Linked DNA regions of Homo sapiens: region 2 is linked to region 1. Evidence: promoter capture Hi-C in human tissues and cell types (Jung and others, 2019). All regions are on one chromosome and are shown on one strand. The core of a region is centred on a gene start or on the middle of the fragment in contact, and the rest is flanking DNA. Distances in the headings are between cores, read along the strand shown.

Region 1 (5,951 bases), core at 1-2,500:
CCGCCACTGTTTTATTTTAATCCACACATTCCCAGTCCTGAGCAATCCTTACCCCAGAGCTCGATTTTCAGGGAACCACAAAAGACAAATAGGCCAGAATAATCTAAGTCCAAGGGAGCCCTCCCGGCCACTTACAAACAGGGTCTTCCATTTTCAAGGGTCTTTTCAAACGGATGTTGGCAGGGACCGTCTTCTCGATCAATTCATCAATGCTCTAAAATTAAAACGCAAGGCAGAGGAAAGTGCCTCTGAGTTAAAAGAGTCACCTCTGTGTTTTGCGACTACAAAGCCTTGTGGGAACCTCATTGAAATCGCCTAATTAGGGTTCTTTTTAAAAGAAAAGGAAAACTCTGAGCAAGCCAGAATGATTTGGAGGAAAGAAAATCGTGAAGTGGGGTGGAGATTCCGCCACTCGGGGTTGGATTTCAGTTGCAACCGGAGCTAACCGGTAAGCCCACTCTTAATCAGGGGGTCTTCCTCCTCTTGCAAAGTTTAGGTCCATCCACAGGGCCACTTGGGCTGGGGGTGGTTTAAAAATGTACACTTTTGAGGCACGAAGACTGGGTGCAGGAGAAAGTAAGCTGTTAAGAAGTAAGAAGGCACGAGGACCAAAGGCACGAATTTGCTTCCACGCCACGGCCCGGGACCCAGGGTGCGGGGACCACGCGGAGCGCAGCAGAGCTCAGGGTAGGAGCCGGGAGGCCGCGCAGGCAGAGCCCGGGCAGGGCGGAGGGGAGGCCGCGGAGGGCCGGGTGGAGGTCCTTACCGCCAGCCCCAAGGTCTGCAGCATCTCTCTCTGGTCTTTGTCCCCAGGGCCGATGTGCCTCCGAGCGAAGTCGTCGTGTCTGGGCAGAAGGCGCTCCAGGAGGCGCGAGGCCCCAGCCGCGGCGCTGTCCCCGCCGCCACTGCTGCTGTCCCGGCTCCGCGGCGCCCAGCACGGCCCCGATCCCCCAGCCAGGCGGCGGCCGCCCCCGACCCCGCGGCCCAGGCGCAGCCCCCACGCCCTGGCACAGGACTGCATGGCCGCGGCCACCGTCCCCTGCCCCGGCCCGCAAGGGTCAGCCGCGCTCTTGGCCCCTCTCCTGGCCTCGGTCCCCCGGGTGGCGGCTGCGCCCGGCCTGGAGCCCCTTTCGCTGGACAGTCGGCCGGACAGATGGATGGACGCTCGCGGGCAATGAATGGGCGCTGCGCTCAACCAAGACACTCGCGCAAAGTTGTGGCTCCACCCAAGGCACCTGCTCCGCACACTTTAAGCGGCGCCCTGGAGGCGGGAGGTGGGTTGGGGCCAGGAAGCCCTTGGCCAATGAAAGTAGACAGAGGGGGAGGGGGCGGAACAGTTCCCGCCCCCGCCCCCTCTTCCTACCCTCTTCCCAGCCCTTCCGTGGAGTCCCGCTTCCCCTGGACCGGAGGCTGCCATCTCCAGTCCTACCCACTCCGACGCTGGCTGGTGCCGGGGGCCGGGACGCTCCGTACGCCGCCCGCCAGGGTGTGGAGCCGCACTGGGGCAAGATCAGGTGGGACAGCCCAAAGACTCCGGGCCAAGTTCCTGGGGGACTCGGCGGAGATGGAAGATGATTCTCGAAGCTCTCCATTTCCTTAATTTTGAGGTATCTTTCTCTGTCACATTTCATCTCAGGGAAATTAATATGGGCAGATGGCGGTTCTTTTATCTTTGCGGGAGCGTGATAAAGTTACTCAACCTCTCAGAGCTTCAGTTTTCTCATCTCAACAGAGCTGGATGGGATTTTAAAAAGAGATTATATGTACATGGAAAGCACTTGAACAGTAGATTTGAACACCCTCTCTATATTTCTTTTCTTTTCTTTCTTCCTTCTTTCTCCTCCTCCTCCTCCTCCTCCTTCTTCTCACTCTCTCTCTTTCTCTCTCTTCCCCCCCACCACATGTAACGCTATGGCTCACGCCTGTAATCGCAACACTTTCGGAAACCGACGCGGTAGGATAGCTTGAGCCCAGGAGTTCGAGACCAGCTTGGGCAGCATTGTGAAACCCTGTCTCTACAAAAAATACAAAAATTAGTGGGGCGTGGTTGCGTGCTTCTGAAGTCCCAGCTACTCTGGAGGCTGAGGTGGGAGGATTGCTTGAGTCAGGGAGTTTCAGGCTGCAGTGAGATGTGATCGCACCACTGCACTCCAGCGTGGGCCACAGAACGAGACTCAGGAAAAAAAAAAAAAAAAGAACTGTGTGTGTGTGTGTATATGTTTTTTTAAATATATGTACTGTATATACATATACGTGTGTGTGTAAAACTACAAAGGATATTTTGTTGTTGTTTTTGAGACGGAATCTCGCTCTGTCGCCCTGGCTGGAGTGCAGTGGCGCGATCTTGGCTCACTGCAACCTCCACCTCCCGGGTTCAAGCGATTGTCCTGCCTCAGGCTCCTGAGTAGCTGGGACTACAGGCACGTGCCACCACGGCCGGCCATTTTTTATTTTTATTTTTAGTAGAGACGGGGTTTCACCGTTTTAGGCAGGATGGTCTCGATCTCCTGACCTCGTGATCCGTCATTACAGGCGTGAGCCACTGCGCCCAGCAAAAGTACAAAGGATATTAAGATAGACATTGTTCACTGTCGTCTTACTTTGAAAGTTAGCCATCTAGAACTGGATTTTTTGTAAATGTACCATCTCCAGCTGTCTCATGACAGTTTTAGCAAGAGAATGAACTTTTAAAATTCCAGTTGTTCTAATATGGGGAAGAGAGGACAGAAGTAATCAGAACATTACTTGTACTTAGACTAGGGGAAAATAAAACCTGTTCTCTTTCTTGCTTATCTGCTAAGTTTCCTCCTCCAATCACCCTTAACAGATTCTGGGCTCCGTACCCAGGAGGCACAGACTATCCAGAGAGGCAGGAAAGTAGAGATGGAAAAGAGGGCAGGAAAATACACCACAAAGAACAGTAGGTAAAATGTCTGTATGGCAGACGGAGGCGGGTGGTGAGCTAGGACGGCTGGGCTGAATGTCTCCGAAAAGTTTTTCGGCCATTTGGAATTGAAATTACAACCTTCATAAAAGTTGGGAGATCTCCTCAGTGCCAGATGGTGGGGGTTGTGGGGAAGGATTGGAGGGAGGAGGTAATCTGCATTTATTCCTATTCCTGTCTATGTTGTTTCTATGTATCAGAGGGACTGGAAGCCAGGGAACAATAATTCCCAGATCCCTTTGGCTCCGTGGTGATGGATGTTATTTGCCTTCTGCCAAAAAAAAACATGTATATATACACACATATATGTATATGAGAATTGGGGCCGGGTGCGGTGGCTCACTCCTGTAATCCCAGCACTTTGGGAGGCCGAGGCGGGCAGGTCACTTGAGGACAGGAGTTCAAGACCAGCTTGGCCAAGATGGCGAAACTCAATCTCTACTACAAATATGAAAAAAAATTTAGCCAAGTTTGGTGGGCGTGCTTGTAGTCCTAGCTACTCAGGAGGCTAAGGCATGAGAATCACTTGAACCTGGGAAACAGAGGTTGCAGTGAGCGGAGAGCGCACCACTGCACTCCAACCTGGGTGATAGAGCAAGACTCTGCCTAAAAAAAAAAAAAGAGAGAGAGAGAGAATTGGGAAATGGAACAAAGGTAAAAACTGTTTTCTTATTTTCTGACTGCAGCAGACAGATGCATGGACCACTGCAGACATGACATGCTTCCTTACCAGCACCCCATCTTGAGGTAGCTGGGAAGCTGTATCCACCAATGGGAATGTCCTGCAGTTCCCCAGCAGGAATTTCTGTGTACTAGACTAGAGCTTCAGTGGTTGACCTGAAGATAGCGTTGGTATTCCCTGGTTTTTGCTCTTCCAGTTCTTCCAGTGGTTTTGTATGCACCCATTCCTGACATTTAATTCTCCTCTGCTTGAAATGCATTGAGTGTTTTTTGTTTATTTGTCTGTGTGATGTTGTGAAATACATATCTGGTATTCATCCCATTTCCTGGCCTGCAACTCCTAAAGTCTTGGGAATCTCCAGACTCCTGCCTTTTTGTATGCTAATGTGACTAACAGCTTCAGAATAGGGCTGGTCACTGGAAAGACAAAGACATAATGGGAGTTGAGACTTTCAGCCCCACCCTCAACTTCTCAGTAGGGCAGAGGGTCAATGATCAATGCTTAATCAATCATGCCTTCCTAATAAAGCCTCTATAAAAACCCAAGAGCCGGACGTGGTGGCTCATGCCTGTAATCCCAGCACTTTGGGAGGCCAAGGCTGGCGGATCACTTGACGTCAGGAGATTGAGACCAGCCTGGCCAACAGGGTGAAATCCCATCTCTACTAAAAATACAAAAATTGGCCGGGCGCGGTGGCTCACGCCTGTAATCCCAACACTTTGGGAGGCCAAGGTGGGCGGATCACAAGGTCAGGAGATCGAGACCATCCTGGCTAACACCGTGAAACCCCATCTCTACTAAAAATACAAAAAATTAGCCGGGCGTGGTGGCGGGCACCTGTAGTCCCAGCTACTCAAGAGGCTGAGTCAGGAGAATCACTTGAATCCGGGAGGTGGAGGTTGCAGTGAGCCAAGATCATGCCACTGCACTCCAGCCTGGGCAACAGAGGAAGACTCGGTCTCAAAAAAAAAACAAAAATAACACACACACAAAAACCCAAGAGGAGAGGTTTCAGAGAGCTTCTGGATAGCTGAATACACACAAAGTGGCACATGGGGAGAGGCCATGGAAGGTCCTCACCCCTTCTCCCATACCTACCTCGCCCTGCGCATCTCTTCATCTGTGTTACTTGTAATATCCTTTATAAAAAATCAGTAGACATAAGTGTTTCCCTGAGTTCTGTGAGCTATTCTATCAAATTAATCAAACCCAAAGAAGGGATCATGGAAACCCCAGCTTCAAGCTGATCCGTCAGAAGTTCTGGAGGCCTAGAATTGCAACTGATGTCTTGGGGACTGAGCCCTCAACCCTTGGGATCTGGCGGTATCCCTAGATAGAGTGTCAGAATTGAAGTGGAGTGCACCCAGCTGGTGTCTGCCTCAGAACCGACTGCTTGCTTGTTGGTGGGGAGAAATCCCCATATATTTCGGGATCATGGAAGTCATCTTCTTCTTTCTGTTTTTCCATTGAGACAGAGCCTTGGTCTGTTGCCCAGGCTGGAGTGTAGTGGTGCGATCTCAGCTCACTGTGACCTCGACCTCACAGTTTCAAGCAATTCTCCTGCCTCAGCCTCCAGAGTAGCAGGGACTACAGGCATATGCCACCACACGCACTAATTTTTGTGTTTTTTTTTTTTAGTAGAGATGGAGTTTCCCCATGTTGGCCAGGCTGGTCTCAAACTCCTGACCTCAAGTGATCCGCCCACCCTGGCCTCCAAAAGTGTTGGGATTACAGGCATGAGCCACCACGCCCAGCCAGATCATGGAAATCTTCTGTGTTGATTGTTGTAGTGTGGTGTGAGACCAGAGGAAGCACAGTTATAGTGCTTTTTCAAAACAGTTAGTTTTCCTGAATAAACCCAAACAAAGGCTATAATGGAAGCCAAAAGCAGATTGAGGAGGGCTTAATGTTTGGGTGAAAAAGGCAAGAGATTCCTGAGAGACACATTCACTCCCTGCCATTGTATGAGCTTTCAGGGAGTTTTTTCCTTTGCCTCCCCCTTTTCTTTTTTTTTTGAGTTTTGCTCTTGTTGCCCAGGCTGGAGTGCAATGTCCCGATCTCCGCCTCCCAGGTTCAAGCGATTCTTCTGCCTCAGCCTCCCGAGTAGCTGGGATTACAGGCATGCGTCACCACGCCCAGCTAATTTTTTCATATTTTTAGTAGAGACGGGGTTTCTCCATGTTGGTCAGGCTGGTCTCAAACTCCTGACTTCAGGTGATCCGCCCGTCTCAGCCTCCCAAAGTGCTGGGATTACAGGCGTGAGCCACCGCACCTGGCCTGCCTCCACTTTTGTTCCTCCCCTGCCCGTTCTGCTCTAGCACAAAT
Region 2 (6,374 bases), core at 2,409-4,908, 230 kb before region 1:
ACACAGGAAGGGTGTGTTTTGTTACATATACAATCATTACTTGCAGTTATTTGTTTATACCCTAAGTCGCCTACTGCATATGTAAATTTATGTTTCCAGATGTAATTCATTTGGTCTGCAGGACAAATACATCATTTTTGAGTCTTACATCTCTAAACTCTGTGCTTAACAATATAGATTGTTTGGGATCTATACACAAATCCTATACAGTCTCAGTAGATACCTAATTTTGAGACAGTCATCTTATCCCCTCCCCACCCCTGCAGTTCTCCATTAAAGCCCCATCACATTAAGAAAGATAAATCTCATAAGAGTGTGTACAGGAGGTCTTAAAAAGTCCCTCTTTAAGAACTTTCCTATTTCTCTTCAATACGTCAAACTTCTATTTCCAGTGGTCAGTTAGACATCTCCAGCTAGACAGATGCTATATTTTGGATGCATTTCAAATGCAACACAGCTCATTTGGAACTCATTGTATTTTCCCGACTTGCCTCCTCTACAAGTTCAGAGCATCACCATCTGCTCGAGCCATCAATTTAAATCTCCTAAGCTAGAAACTTGGGAACTGTTCTCAACATTCCATTTTCCTCATCCTTTATATCCACAATCCTACAAGTTTTATAGGCTCAATTTTCTAGAATACTCTGGAATACATCCTCTCCTCTCCTACTTACCGCCACTAATTTCACCAAAACTGACACAATTGCCTCCTCTGTAAACTTTCTGACAATAAGTTCTCCCCTCATGTCCCTCTTCCTTACTTTTTCCCTAAGGCATCTGTCCAGATTCCTTTTGCTATTATTTCAAATGCATATTTAATTACATCCATCTACTCCTTAAAAATCTTAGTTTTTCCCTGGGGCCCACAAAAATCATCTGCTTTGAATGTTAATTTTCACACACTGCCCTTTTCTATTTAGTCAACCATTCTCTGATTTGCAGTCTCTTCTGACCTGTAAAAAATGCACACTTTTTTGTCTTTGTTTAAGCACTCTTTCCTCTTTGGGCATACTCTGTTTATCTAAATCTTCTCCATAACAGCAGTACTAAAATAATTTATTGTGTACTACTAAGGGATAGTATGCAAACCACTTTACAATCATTAGGTTATTTCAAGCACCATTTTACATTGAGGAAATTGAGGATGTTATTTGTACAAGATCACATTTTTAAGCAAGCAGTAAAACTGGGATTATAATTCCGGTCTATCTCAATCCATGAACTGAACATTTAAATGCTGCCTCCTACTACAATGTATCACATAACTCGTGTCAAGTTGTACAGTTATTTTTAAGCTTCCAGATCATTCTAGTTCCCCTTTTCTTAATCATTCTAGTTCTCCTCTCATCTGTAATCATGGTTTGCGCCAACATCAGTGTTTAGTACTAAGTTATTCTTTAATATTTTATTTTTGTTAAATCTTATCTCAACTAGATTGTAATTTGTTTTGTGAGAGGTAACTAAAAAAAAAATCCTAACGTAACTCCACAAAGCCATAGTATAACGTTATAATAGTAAATAGCATAACCTTATAATAAATAGTTTCGCCTTATTGAGGTAGGTAGTAAGTGTGCTTTAGGTAGATTTGGTTGGTGCAAATGTAATTGTGGTTTTTGCCACCGAAAGAAATGGCAAAACCCCAATGACTTTTGCACCAACCTAAATATCATCTCATTTACATATGTAATAAATACTCAATATTTGCTTTAATTAAAATAGGGGTAGACAAGTGAATTATATTTAGAGGTTCTAGGTGACTGAAATTTTCACAGGGGCAGAAACCCAAAATATGTATGTGCAGTTAATTTTTTCTGTCTCTTCTGTGTTGGGCCATCTTTTTTTTCTCTTTTTTTTTGAGATGGAGTCTCACTCTATCGCCCAGGCTGTAGTGCAGTGGCGTGATCTCAGCTCACTGCAGCCTCCGCCTCCCGGGTTCAAGCAATTCTCCTGCCTCAGCCTCCCGAGTAGCTGGGACTACAGGCAACTGCCACCATGCTCAGCTAGTTTTTTAATATTTTTAGTAGAGATGGGGTTTCACCATGTTGGCCAGGCTGGTCTGGAACTCCTGACCTCAAGTGATCCGCCCACCTCGGCCTCCCAAAGCGCTGAGATTACAGGCCTGAGCCACTGCGCCCGGCCTTTCTCTTCTTTTTCATGATATACTACTGGATTTGTCTGTGCTTGTAATTATTTTAGCTGTTTATTAGTTTATTACAAAAAAATGGTACTGTACCTTTATGGGAATAATTAGCACCTATGTGAATATTTAAGTTACCGATTTTGGCAAATGTGAAGTCCAAGTTGTCTTGTTTTGTTTACGTTTATATCCTCTCTCCCTTCTTGAGAAGACATATTTTCATTTAAAATAAACCCACTTGGCCGGGCGCGGTGGCTCACGCCTGTAATCCCAGCACTTTGGAAGGCCGAGGCGGGTGGATCACGAGGTCAGGAGATCGAGACTATTAGCCGGGCGCGGTGGCGGGCGCCTGTAGTCCCAGCTACCCCAGGGAGGCTGAGGCAGGAGAATGGCGTGAACCCGGGAGGCGGAGCTTGCAGTGAGCCGAGATCGCGCCACTGCACTCCAGCCTGGGCGACAGAGAGAGATTCCGTCTCTAAATACATACATACATACATACATACATACATAATAAATAAAATAAAATAAACCCACTCACCCCCACCCCGACTCCCCAGCTGTAGCAGGGAAGGATTAAGAAGGCGGGGTGGGGGGTGGGGGAAGCCCTGTTAGGTAGTGCTGCGTTGGGCCCACTTCTGAGGGTTTAATCCTAGTAGGGTCTTTGGAGTTCTTTCTTCGGAGGCGCGTAGCTCTGCATTATTTAAAACTGTTTCCCGCAAACCCGCAATCCCTTAGGCCAAAGGCACCCCTAACGCGGAAAGTCTACGAACGGAAATGTCCGGAGTTAGAGAGCGGCCTTTCGGGCAGCTGCCCCGACTTCTCCAAGGCCGGAGGGCCGGCTGGGAGCGCTGCAAGCCAGAGAGGGCGATCCCAGCGGGACCCGCGGCCTGAGGATAGGCCTGGAGCTGCCGCCTCCGCCAGGCGACGGGAAACCCTCGGAAGTGGGTTTCCGCGCGAAAGTAGCATTGCGGCCAGGCGGGAAACGTGTTCGCGAAGCAGGAGGGCCCCCGGGGCCTTTCCCGGGCGACCCGACCCGCCAGGCCGCGTGGCGGGAGCTTTCCTGTTGAGCGCGGTGGAGCGCACACATTTCCTTCAGTTCTTTCTCGGAAGTTTAGGCCGCACCCACCCGCGCCCCCTTTCCAGGATTATACAAGTGCACGCCAGGGTTTCTTATTTTTGGTGTGTTTTTGAGACCAAAGAACCATATCCGCTAAGCCTGAGGAGGCACCCGCCCCCTCAGCTCTGAAACGAGGCCTCAAAACGGCAACCGATGTGGTAGCCGCGCAATCTTCCGAAACCCAAAGGCTAGAGGGCGTGCCCAGTGGCCAGGTGCAGGCGGTGGGGCAAGTAACGGCTTTTGGTAGCCCCGCCCCTCCGACCCGCCCTCTCCGCGCCTGCCCATTTTCGTTCCCTCGGGTCTGTAACCCTCTCCCGGGCCGCTTCCTCTTTAAGGCGGAGCCCGGCGTGGATCTCGCGAGATCCGGCTTGGCGCCGTGACCTCCATGTGGGAGCTCCAGCTCTATAAGTAAACACTCTGCGCGGCGCAGACATGGCCTCTTCCTATCTTTGAGGCGGTGTCTGCGGCAGCGCCTCAGAGTGGTTCCGGTCGTCTCTCCTCAAGTCGGCTAGTCGGGCGCGCGCGCTGAGAGTCGTCGCCGCCTGTCGGGCCCGGCGTCCGGTCGGTCCGGTGGGCGCGCTCGCCCGCCTGCCGCTGAGGGCCCGAGCCGCAGGGAAAGCGGCGCGGGCCGGGCGGGGCGCGGCGCCCAGAGCTCAGGGGGAGACAAAGGGGACCGGTTCCTCTCTAGGCGCCAAGATGTGGATACAGGTTCGCACCATTGATGGCTCCAAGACGTGCACCATTGAGGACGTGTCTCGCAAAGCCACGATTGAGGAGCTGCGCGAGCGGGTGTGGGCGCTGTTCGACGTGCGGCCCGAATGCCAGCGCCTCTTCTACCGGGGCAAGCAGGTGAGGCGCGCCCGCCGCGCCCCTAGCGAGGCTGGGGGCCGGAACAGCTGGGCTCCTCTGGACGCACCGGTCCGAGGGCTCTGTGCGCCGCGCGCGCAGGGCTCACCTGGCTCCGCTGCGGGTGGGCAGCCCCCGCGAGGCGCGGGGTGCGGGGCCCAGTCCCGCCGAATGGTGGGGAGTGGGTCCCTGCCAGCCCCAACTGGAGGTGCGCCGCGCGGGGTCAGAAGTGAGGGCGTCCGGAGCGCAAATATCTCGCCGTTTGTATTTGGTAGGACAGCGGCCGTAGGCACTGGGTGCCCAGGTCCCTCGCTTCCCGCGCTCGGCGGGGCCTGGGGCCCCCAGAGGGCGGGGAGGGCAGAGGGCTCTGGCGGCCATGCCACCGCGCGGGAGACCCGGAGAGCTGGCTAACCCGGCTGAGCGTTCGCCTGGCTTCCGCGGCTCTTCCGCGTCTTCGGCTCTCAAACAGGGGAAACTCGGGCATTGAGCTCTCAAGAATAAGAACCCTAACTCTGCTTCCTGACTGTGGTAGGATTCGCGCAAACTGAAGATTCGAAGGGTTTCCAGAACTTCTGGTCCCTCTCCCTCGCCGCCTTTCCTAGGTTTGGAATGTCTCGAGGGAGGTTAGAGACCTGGGCATGAAGAAACTGTCGGTTTAACCGGGGGCCGGGTTTACGAATGCCCTATATAAGCCAAGAGTTTTATTCCCGAAGTGAAAAGGAGTGTAAGACTGTTTGCTTTTCTTACTTCTCGCCTTCTAATACTCATGTCGTTCACGCTTTAAGCATAGCACTGCAGCATAGCCAGCGGTGCATACTTGAAGGCTGTCTGTGGGCATCTCTGGTATTTTTATGGTCTGGCCAGTCTAAGTTTTTTTCCTATTCCACAAGTCTCTTACAATCTATATCCCTAGCCACTCAGACCCATCGTATTTTTCTTTGTCTTCATGTTGTTGTTAATACACTAAAAAGTTGGCATCCTGAGTTGATAGACCACAGTTTGGCTCCAATCCTGTGGTTTTAAATAAGTGTAGCTCTTTGATTTGGTAGAAGTAGCCTACAGTTGCAAACTACTTAAAAGGAATATTTTCCTCCCCTTCACAGGCTTAGTCTTCGAAGACTGTCCAGAAATTTCATAGTAACAAATTACACTTTGGGAAGGAGAGAGCTTTTTTTTCCCCTTTCCTTCTCTCTTTAAAATAATGTTATAGCACCTTTGATTTGTGTTTGCAGCCAGTTTTGTACTGACTTCTTAGTGTTTGACTTGTAAAAACAGGTATTTAGTTGTAAGCTTTGCTTTTGAAATAATTGTACACTTGTTAAATACTACATAGATTTGCTTTGCTGTGCCTCAAGTGGCTGATACCGTTTCCTTTTGATCACAAGTGAAAAAGCATGTAATCGTTTGATGCATTTTATTTTCTAGCTGGGGACAAATAGTACATGAATTCCTAGGACACTGGTGATTTCAGCACCAGAGATAGAAATGAAGGATGTTCTTGGGCAACACTCCTAAAATCTTTATTATCAAATATGCTAAAATAATTATCACATATGGGATTGGGTTAAATTCAAGGCAACAAAGTAGACTTTCAGTAAACTAGGAAGCTCATTCCAGATTCCAGGGAAAACTGAGGATAACCGTTGTACTTCCTCTTCCAGGGTCCTAGTGGGTAATTCACTACTTGGGTTTCTTCAGCCCAGTGATAAACCAGTAGGGTAGAGGAATAGACCTTTGGTGCCAGCCATTAACTTGGAAACAGAAAAGGAAGGTCATTGGTACCAGCTGTGTGTTCACTTTCTTATGCGCTGACAAGTAGCTATGGCAATGAGTGTTATCTTTCGTGGTCTCTGGAGCTCCACAGATGAGGTAGCCAGCCTGTAGCAGGTAACTACTGGAATGGCATCACAGAGAGTCCCCGTCCTGTAAAATACCATGTCCTCATTGGAAAAAGGTACCCCTACTTCAAAATACTTTACTGCCACGTAGTGAAAAATGTCATAAATTGTAGACAATACATTTATTTTTATTTAAGTGGTACCCGCCCCCCATACTCCATTCGTATGTTAGGCTCCAGCTTTTAATCTTTGGTATGTATCAGAATCGCTTGTGGATATTTATTATAGATGTTCAGCTCACCCCAGAACTGCAAGTAGTTGAATTTAACAAGACCCCACGGGAGATTCTGATAACACCAGAGTTTAGAAAATGAATGTTGATAGATAGTCTCCCACTAGTCTCTTACTATTCAAAGTATGGTCCCTGGATTCTCAG

Evidence for each region. Contacts are between HindIII fragments. The study calls those that stand out against the background at their distance.
Region 2: the fragment with the promoter of UHRF2 here is called in contact with the fragment with the promoter of GLDC in region 1 in 2 of the 25 tissues and cell types used here (adrenal gland and heart right ventricle).

What each region holds. Positions count from the first base shown.
Region 1 is chr9:6,644,479-6,650,429 of GRCh38, forward strand. GLDC (glycine decarboxylase) reads right to left here and starts at 1,251. Exons shown (of 25, transcript NM_000170.3): 1 at 767-1,251; 2 at 136-214. The coding sequence starts at 1,021. RefSeq lists enhancers at 461-1,018, 1,999-2,108, 2,159-2,258, 3,245-3,800, 3,801-4,356 and silencers at 699-768, 809-1,008, 1,079-1,328. The HindIII fragment of the contact is 11,104 bases long and covers 1-5,951 here.
Region 2 is chr9:6,409,541-6,415,914 of GRCh38, forward strand. UHRF2 (ubiquitin like with PHD and ring finger domains 2) reads left to right here and starts at 3,659. Exons shown (of 16, transcript NM_152896.3): 1 at 3,659-4,103. The coding sequence starts at 3,951. RefSeq lists silencers at 3,377-3,516, 3,797-3,976, 4,047-4,476. The HindIII fragment of the contact is 6,487 bases long and covers 222-6,374 here.